2 separate regions of the Homo sapiens genome follow, and region 2 is linked to region 1. Evidence: promoter capture Hi-C in 16 types of primary human blood cells and fetal thymus (Javierre and others, 2016). All regions are on one chromosome and are shown on one strand. Each heading gives the region's core, a stretch centred on a gene start or on the middle of the fragment in contact. The rest is flanking DNA. Distances are from core to core; before and after follow the strand shown. Region 1 holds the start of WDR26 (WD repeat domain 26). Region 2 overlaps LOC105373109 (a long non-coding RNA gene).

What was found. Contacts are between HindIII fragments. The CHiCAGO score rates a contact against its expected background, and 5 or more counts as called.
Region 2: a fragment that was not itself captured here is called in contact with the fragment with the promoter of WDR26 in region 1 in 1 of 17 cell types (M2 macrophages); the score reaches 6.2 in M2 macrophages.

What each region holds. Positions count from the first base shown.
Region 1 is chr1:224,432,307-224,436,961 of GRCh38, reverse strand. WDR26 (WD repeat domain 26) reads left to right here and starts at 2,165. Exons shown (of 14, transcript NM_001379403.1): 1 at 2,165-3,278. The coding sequence starts at 2,557. It also overlaps a transcript of CNIH3 not described here. RefSeq lists an enhancer at 1,257-1,446 and a silencer at 1,787-2,186. The HindIII fragment of the contact is 13,558 bases long and covers 1-4,655 here.
Region 2 is chr1:224,896,479-224,901,120 of GRCh38, reverse strand. The region is part of intron 1 of LOC105373109 (a long non-coding RNA gene); the gene reads left to right. Among named protein-coding and RNA genes, the nearest start is that of DNAH14, 31 kb to the left of the region's middle. The HindIII fragment of the contact is 2,627 bases long and covers 1-2,621 here.

The DNA of each region.
Region 1 (4,655 bases), core at 916-3,415:
GACAGGTGAAGAAAAGACGGGAGAGTGTAGTCAAAGACTCTCAAGGAGAAATGAGCCAGTACATTTGGCGGACAGTAGACAGGTCCCTGAAGAGGAGCAATAAGAGATGAAGCCAAAAAGAAAGACTGAAAGCAACCTGTGGTGAGCAAGACAGAATTTGGATTTTATTCTGTAGGTAATGTGGTGTTACTGAAGGTTCCTCAGTGTGTAGAGTGGTATTTCAGAATTGTTCATCTGCACATAGACCTGAAACTTGGCTTTAGAAAGACCTAAAGACCCAGAGTTCAGATAACAGATTCTCAAGCTGTGTTTTAGTACAGAGAAAAATGTTCTGTAAGGGACTTTATAAATTCAGAATTCTAACACGAGCAGTGTTGGTTACCTAAAAATTAGAAAAACTGGAATATAGAGTTTAGATAGCAATGGAATCCAATTTATTTTTCATCATTTTACTTTTGTTAATGAAGTGTGAGCTTTGTCTGTAGCTGCCATGAAGTGACTGATTTCCTTTATAAAACCTACAGTCTTTATTCAGAAGCAAGTCTTCAATGTTGCTATGGGCCTAATAAATTATTATAAACCATTTTGCAAAAATTAAATTTTGCCTAAACAACACTTTTAATAATAAGGTTGTCTAAAGTTAATATACAAACAGGGCTCTCTGAGGGTGTTAACTATCTAGTAATTCAGGCTCTGCTGGATACAGTGACAGAGCTCTATGAACCTCAACTAGAACTCAGGTCGGCCTCAGGTGAATATAAACACTGTATGTGAGTCACCTTGCAATTACAGCTGCCACCTGGAAGCAAATTTAAGCAGTAAGAACTACAAAACCAAATCCCTGTAAGATCCTGCATTGACCTTCCTCTTACTTCTTCCTGTCTGAGGATCCATAAACCTCAGGATTCTTTACTAATTTCTCATCAGCATCATTTTTTATTGTATTTCCAAATTTAAAAACAACTGTCTCCAAAGGCCTCAAAATTACTTTCAGTTATTACTATAATAAATATCAGCGATGTATGATGTATTAATTAGAAACTAAGGTGTTTTTTTTCCCCTCCCCACAGGAAAACTACTTCAGAGAAAGACTTTAAATTTCTGAGAAAATCTTTATACATATTGAGTATAGATGCTATCAACCACATACATGAAAATAATTGTTTGGGGATAATGCACACCATTTGCCAATGATTAAGATTCAGCCCAGTCTTTGTTGCTGCATTTCTACATTCACATAAATTGGTAAGTCATGATGACACAGAAGGCTCACATGCCACGTAAAAATTTCAAGCCTGGATCTGAATGGGTGCCTGAATCCTTCTCAGAATGCATATTTTGGAGGCAACTGTTTGGTTTATGTTACTGCTCCCTAAACTGGGCAGTGACTCAAGAGGCAGCTGGAAGAGAGAAGGAGGTGCTGGGCAAGTGCTAAAAAAGAGTGAAGCCTCAACAGCAGAGTCCCTCCCCTTCTCTACACACCACACAGCCTTTTTGTGACTTCTTGTCCCCATAAGATATGCTCCTCTAGACTAACTCCCCTTCCCAGGGTGGAGCAGAGTCTCACCGGCTCATTATCTCACAGCTCCCGGGATGGCCCCGGGTACAGCAACTGTGTGGCACTTGGCTGTGGAAATTCAAGTTTTTCCACCCTAAAACAAGTAGGTTGTGAAACCCGATTTCGGTCCTGGTTACCATTGAGAGGGGCCTACCACAGCCCTGTGCCTGGAAGTTCCTGCCTGTCGAAGCTCCTAGCCCCCTGCCCCATCCTCACCTTCTGCACCTGATGGAGAAGGTGCAGTCCCTCCGCGCACCTTACATGCCCATGCCACACTGGTGGACTCACGCACGCACGCCAACTCTGCCATCCCATGCACGCCCGGCTTCGGAGGGCGGCTACGAACTTACTGCTCGTCGAGCCAGCCGAGCCAGGGCGCAAGGGGAAAGGCCCGAGCGGGGCCGGGGATAGGATCGGATAGGAGTCGGGGTCGTGGATGGGGTCGGGGCGGACCCCGCCGGCCCGCTGGCCTCCCTCCCCTGACCCCCGGGACAGCCCCCGATGCACGTGCTGGGTGACAGGCCCCCTATAGGTTCCATACCTGCCACCGGAAGTGAGTGAGGAGGGCAGTATAGGCATTTCCTGTGACGCGAGCGCCTGGACTCCATTAGGCAGCAGCTGGGGGAAGAATCAACACACCAGGGAGCAGAGCGGAGCGGATCCGAGGACAGAGGCGGCAGCTGCCTCCGCTGCCGCCCGCCGCCGCCGCCGCCGCAGCCACTGCCGGGGCTCAGCCCAGCGGCGGGCCCCGCGCCCCCGCAGCCGCCCCGCGGCGCCCCCCGGCGCGACCCCCGGGCCGCGCACCCCGAGCTGCCTCCGGGAGGGGGGGGGGAAAGGGCCCGGATCCTCCTTCTCCCCCTCCTCCTCCTCCCCCTCCTCTCACCCTCACCCTCACCCTCCTACCCTGACCCCCTCCCCGCCTCCCCGGCCCCCCTCACCCCGACCCTCTCCCCGGCCCCCGCCTCCCCTCCCCCGCCTCGCCCCACCGGCTTCCCACCACGGCCTCTCTCGGCGAGGAAACTCTGGCCTCCGCTTCCTCCTCCTCCGACTCGGACACCGGCGGAGCCTCCCCGCCCCCGCGGAAGAAACCCCGAGCCTCGGCGGCGGAGGGAGTAGGAGAGCCCGGGGCTTCGGCAGGCAGAGCAGGCCTCTCCCCTCCGTCCTCGTCGTCCTCGTCCTCCTCCTCCTCCTCCTCCTCCGTGGTGGTAGTGGTGGGACTTCCCCCGGCTGCTGCCCCTCCCGCCGCCGCTGCTGTCCCCCACCGAAGTAGCGGCCACAGCCTGGTCAGCGGCAGCATCATGCAGGCCAATGGGGCAGGAGGAGGAGGAGGAGGTGGCGGCGGCGGCGGTGGAGGAGGAGGGGGCGGCGGGGGCCAGGGACAGACCCCGGAACTCGCCTGCTTGTCGGCCCAGAACGGGGAGTCGTCCCCCTCGTCGTCGTCGTCCGCGGGGGACCTGGCCCACGCCAATGGGCTCCTGCCTTCCGCCCCCTCCGCCGCCAGCAACAATAGCAACAGCCTGAATGTCAATAACGGGGTTCCCGGCGGGGCGGCCGCCGCATCCTCAGCCACCGTCGCAGCTGCCTCCGCCACCACCGCCGCCTCCTCTTCCTTGGCCACCCCAGAACTGGGCAGCAGCCTCAAGAAGAAGAAGCGGCTCTCCCAGTCAGATGAGGATGTCATTAGGCTAATAGGACAGCACTTGAATGGCTTAGGGCTCAAGTAAGTATCCCTTACCGCCAGCTGGTGATGGACAGACCGAGGGACGGAGGCTCCAGGGGGGTAGGGGAAGGGGCGGAGGGGGGAGGGGGGCTTGAAAGAGCTCGGTCAAAGAGAATGAGTGCTGGGCACGCAGGACCCAGTACACAGGAGGACGCGGCTCAGGGCGACCGGGGAGGAGGAGCGGACCTGAAAGGAAATAGGGGAAAATCAATCAGTCTGACAAATTGTGAGACGAGACAGGCGTTGAGGGGTTAGGAAGGGTTAGGAGAAACCCAAAGAATGACTTCTCCCCACGCACCTTCAGAGCTTAATTGTCTGTCAATAAAGACAGATGCGGGAGTGTGTTTCTGTATGTGTTGGGGGAGGGGTGGATTAGAGCTGGTGGAAATAATGAACCTTGGAGGATTTGTTTTTCAAGTGTATCTTGGAGGCATCTTTGTGGGACACCTCCCCACCCCCAACCGTGGCAGACAACAACCCAAGCAAACTACCAATCAGGAAAGACAATCACCTACAAGTGTTTATGGGAACGGAGGGGCTGGGATCATTTGGAAAGAGGTTGTTGAATAAATCTGATGCGAATAATGAAGATACAGTGTTGATGTCGTTTAAAGGCCCTTGTGTGTGTGTACAAGAGGCCTAACCCTAACTAGTCTGAAATCTCAGTTTAATACCAAGAAGATGATCGCCTCTGAAAAGGGGACATCTGATCTGGTGAACCATTTGTTTTCAAATACAATTTAGGTGGCCTTGTATACCTAACATAGGGTGAAGGTAGACAGCGACCTTGGACAAAAACCACCGTTTTGTATACACACAAAGAAAAACTAAGGGGGTGGAAGGTAGGATTGGTGGGAGTGCCTGATGAAGGAGGTGCAAGAGACGGAGTCAGAATGAAATGAAGGGGGGAGGACGTGCAGCAGCAGTCAGTTTCCTACATTCAGAGTGTAGATTAAGCTCTCAGGCTAGCCGATGTGTACTTTTGCATTTATGGATTTCTTGGGGAGTGGGGAGGAGAACAGAACTTTTTAAAAGTGGCACAAGTATTTCGGTTTTCAGGCAGATCATTGCACTGTTTAGCTAAAAATTAAGTTTTAAAGCTGAATAAGAAAGCATTGAAACATAAGCACAAAAAATAGACTGATAAATGAAGGTTCTTAGATACCAGAATACATGAGGGAAGAAAATACAGTTGATGAATCTTTTAAGTGCTCAAAGACAAATATGTGGTAGGAAGAATTCACTTTATTCCCTAGGGAAAAGGATTAGTATGAAAACAGATTTTGTAAATGCTAACAGAACATATTACTGAGACAAGAAGCAAGCTGACAGCAGCAGGAGGAAATAACTCGTGACTGTTTGGAACCTACACCATAG
Region 2 (4,642 bases), core at 59-2,558, 470 kb before region 1:
GGCTGCAACCTTCTTAAGAACTGAGAGGAAAACAACAGAGTGGAAGGATGCTGTTGGTCATCGCTGGTCCTGATGACACAGTTGAGCCTCTGAATCAACCAGCCTGGAACCACCATTCTTGGGCCTTCCTGTTAAATGAGATAATAAATATTTTAAATTGATTAACCCAACTCTTAAACTTTAATGTTCAATTCAAATCCCTTGGAGGTCCTGTGAAAGCAGAGAGCCTGATTTTGTAGGTCTGGAGTGGTGCCTCAGATTCTGCTTTTCTTGCAAGCCCATGGATGATGCCGATGATGCTCGTCCACAGACTTGGAGTAGCAAAGACTAAAGCCACTCTTTCCTGGGCTTTCTGTTAGTTTCAGTGGAAAGAATGTCACTTAATTTGCTTTTGGTTATAGACGGAATTTAAAATTGAAGATGCTGAGAGAGAGGAAAAAAAGAAAATAGATTGTCTCTGTGGCTGGACATATAAACTGAGAGACCATACTCTTTCTTGTGGATAAATTAGCAGAAGCCTGTAGAGAAAGAGCAGCAGCAGGAAGAGAGGTACAGAACCAAGAGGCAGGAAGAAAACACTATGGGCAGTGGCAGGGGTGGTGATGAAGGTTTTCTGGTTTCCAGTTCCATTCTTTCCTGAGACCCAGCTGCATTCCTGCTCTTAGAAAAACCCTTTGGCTTACGATTGCTCAAATTGTTTTATGCAACCTGCTACTGAATAATCCTGATTAGTGCCGGTGCTCAACCAGTAGGGTCATGCAACTGTGTTTTTGTTTCTCAAATGGGAAGCTCTCTTTGAGAGCAAGTAGCTTTTACTTTCACATGTGCTATAGCATTGACTTTATTTATTTATTTATTTATTTATTTATTTATTTATTTATGAGACAAGGTATCTCTGTCACCCAGAGTGGAGTGCAGTATTGCAATCATAGCTCACTGCAGCCTTCAACTGCTGGGCTCAAGCTATACTCCCACCTCAGCCTTCCAAGTACCTGGGACCACAGGTGCATGCCACCACACCCGGCTAAGTTTTTTTTATTTTTTGTAGAGACAGAGTCTCACTTTGCTGCCCAGGCTGGTCTAGAATTCCTGGCTTCAAGCGATCCTCCCACCTAGGCCCTCCAAAGTGTATATTTTAAAACTTATAGCTTTTTTCCATTTGCTTACTTATTCCCCAGCACCAAACATAGTATCTGATAGATAATTGATGATCTGAAAATTCTGACTCCGTGAATAAAATGATGGACACACTCACAAGAACTTTACAGGAAATATGTATGTAGTTCAGCCAACTCTGATTCCATGTAAATCTCCCTCATATACTTTGTTTTCACCAAATCTGTTAGTACTGTGCTCCTTTGTGCATATGACTATGATAATGATGAAATAAGATGCATATTCTTCTTAAAGCCCTAAAGTTTTGTGTAATGTTCCTTGACAGAAGTGTTGTTCACTACTTATGTTCACTACATAAGATAGTGCTACAATCTGTCATCTTTTTAAAAATAAGTTTTATTGAGATATAATTCACATACCATATAATGTATTCATTTAAAGTGTGCAAGCCGGTTGTTTTTAGTACTCATATAGTCACCAAATTGTACAACCATCACCATAATCACTATTAAAATATTTTTATCATACCTGAAAGAAATCCCATACTATTTAGCAGTCATTCTCAATTTCTTCCCAGCCCACAGCCATGAAGCAACTACTAATGTACTTTCTGTAGATCTACCCATTCTGGACATTTCATGTCAATGGAACTGACTTCTTTACTTAGCCTGATACGTTCAAGATTTATCCATGTTGTAGTGTGTATTAGTACTTCATTTCTTTTCATGTGTGAATTACATAACATTGTATGGATATACCATTTTGTTTATCTCTTCATCTGTTGATAGATGTTTGGGTGATTTCTACTTTGGGGCTATTACAAATAATGCTGTTATGAACATTCATGTACAAGTTATGGTCTGGATATATGTTTTTATTTCTCTTGGGTAGATATCTAGGAGTGGAATTGCTGGGTCTTATGGTAACTGACTCTATGTTTCATCTTTTGAGTTGCCAAACTCTTTTTCCAACGTAGCTGCACCGTTGTACTTTCCCACCAGGAGTATATGAAGGTTCTGATTCCTTCAGCACTTTGTTATTATCTCTCTTTTTATTACAGCCATCCTAGTGGGTATAAAGTGGTATGCCATTGTGATTTTGATTTGCATTTCCCTGATGGCTAAGGAATGCATAATCTTTTGTCTGATAAAATTGAGAGGAAATGAATTTTTCTGGATAATCAACCATCTCTTATTTGTTTAGGATGTTTCTTCCAATAGGCTTTTTTTCCCCAATAAAACAGTTTTCATGCTTTCCAATTTACTTAAAAATCAGAACAATCCACCGTCATTATTTTTATCTAGGTGTTTCACATATGTATGCCCCCTGAAGGACACACATATTTATAACCCCATAGTCCCTATTGCAATAGTTCTTTGTGTGATGTAGGTATTTTACAAAGACATAATGAATGAATAAAGTAATAATACTTCAAAGAAAAGCTGTATTTTATCCTAGCAACTGTTCTCATGAGAACAGCAAGCAGCAGTACTCAGAGTGAAGCTTTTCAGAGCTGCTAGATATTTTTGATTCAATCTTTGCTTGCCCATTAAAACATTCATTGCATTGTGAATAAGAAAATCCAAACAATCTCCCACCCACCACAACTTTGCAAACCACAAATACATAAATCAGAAGATGTAGTTCATGACAAAAATTCTGGATTATGAGAGAATGGGGATGGTAAATGGATTGAGACAACTGAGAGACTGAATAGACAAATGGACAATGGCCAGAACATATATAAAAATAGAACTCTGATCCACAACCTGCAGCAATCAGGCCAGGAAACAACCCTATTATCTACAATAAACAGCCCAGGAAGCCAGTCTATGATCCACAAGTCAGACTTGCTGGAGATTTGACTACTATCTCTAAGAAACAGTCCAGGAACCCAAACAATAACTCCTGTAACAATTGGCCTCAAATGGCCAGCACTTGCTTCAATAATTGACAGCTTCTTTAATTTTTCTACTTCCAACTTAGGAACTACCAGAAAAAGTCAAATATGCACCCCTAAACATTACACAGGATGCCTCATTTATAGGTAGTCTGTCTGCAGCTTCCCCATGCCAACAGCTTCCAATCAGGGTACACATGAATTCTCTTTTTCCCTACTATAAAGCTTTCCCACTCCTCTGCCTGCCTTTGAATCTCTGCCAAAATGCAAGGGATGACTCCCTCACTATAGTAATCTCTGAATGCATATCCACTCCCTGTTCTCATGTGGTTGGTCTTTATTTCCACACAGGCTGTTTGGATTTAATATCCTAGCCTGATTTAGAATCTGCTTAACTATTTTCTGAATCCAGTTGAAAGAAGTAGTATTCCTATGACAGTCAGGTTACTATGAGTCAGTCTGGTGGCATGGAAAGCGCATGAGGCTTGGAGCTAAGAGATGATTATTGTAGTCCCAGCACACTGCTAATCACTTTGTGACTCTGGGCATGTGGCTGCTGGAGAGTTAGGTTTCTCTAGTTATAAAGTGGGAATAGTGGAGGCCTAAACTATATCTCTAAAATAGCTTCTGTTTCTTAATCACAGAATACTAGAAATGGTTTCAAATAATTTGTGATCAACTGCCTCCTCTAACCTTCTAACCTCATTCTCATCTGTTATGGACTGAATGTTTGTGTCCCCTCCAAATTCATATGTTTAAATCCTACCCCCCAATGTGATGATATTAGAAGCAGAGCCTTTAGGAAGTAATTTGGTCGTGAGGGTTGTCTTAGTCTGTTCATGTTGCTGTAACAGAAGACCATAAAATGGGTAGAATATAAACAAAAGAAATTTATTTCTCACAGTCCTAGAGGCTGGGAAGTGCAAGATCAAAGCACCGCAGATTGGCTATCTGGTGAGGGCCTGTTTCCTTGTTCATAGAAACTGCATCTTCTTGCTGTATCTTCACATTGTGGAAAGGACAAGGCAGCTCTCTGGGGCCTCTTTTGTAACACTTCTGCTGAAACTTTGAGAAAATAGAAAAAAGTCTTAATGTTGTGGAGTAGTACAGATTGAAAACAACTGTTCTATTCCATTTGGATACAACAAATATGCTCCATTGGTCTGCGGTGTGTAAATACTTGATCTTTCTCATCAACCATAGTAAGAGGGGAAATCTAAAAGTCCAGGCTACCCTGACAAGGCTCCCACGTCTCTCTCCCTGATGTGCCTGGGGTGCCTAGTGCATCTAAGTCATTAGTGGAACCTGTATGGTGTGGCCCCATCTGGACGTGTGTCTACTGAGGAGGTGTACTGCTTCTTTTAAAAAGCTGCCTTGCATGCCATGTGGCTATGTGTCCTTGTTCCTAAATAGACAAATGCAAACCTTCAGCTGTAAGCTGCCTGTTTGTTCCTTCCCTGAACATGGTCACAGAAGCTGGGGACAGCTGGCTGCAGAGGCTGGCCAGGGCTGCTCAGAAGTGCTGGGTATGTGGATGGTAGTGCCCAAGGCCAACCTGACATGTGGGTTATGGAGCTGCAAGGTAGTGCTCACTCTTATAAAGCAGTAACCTGCAGCTCTGCCAGC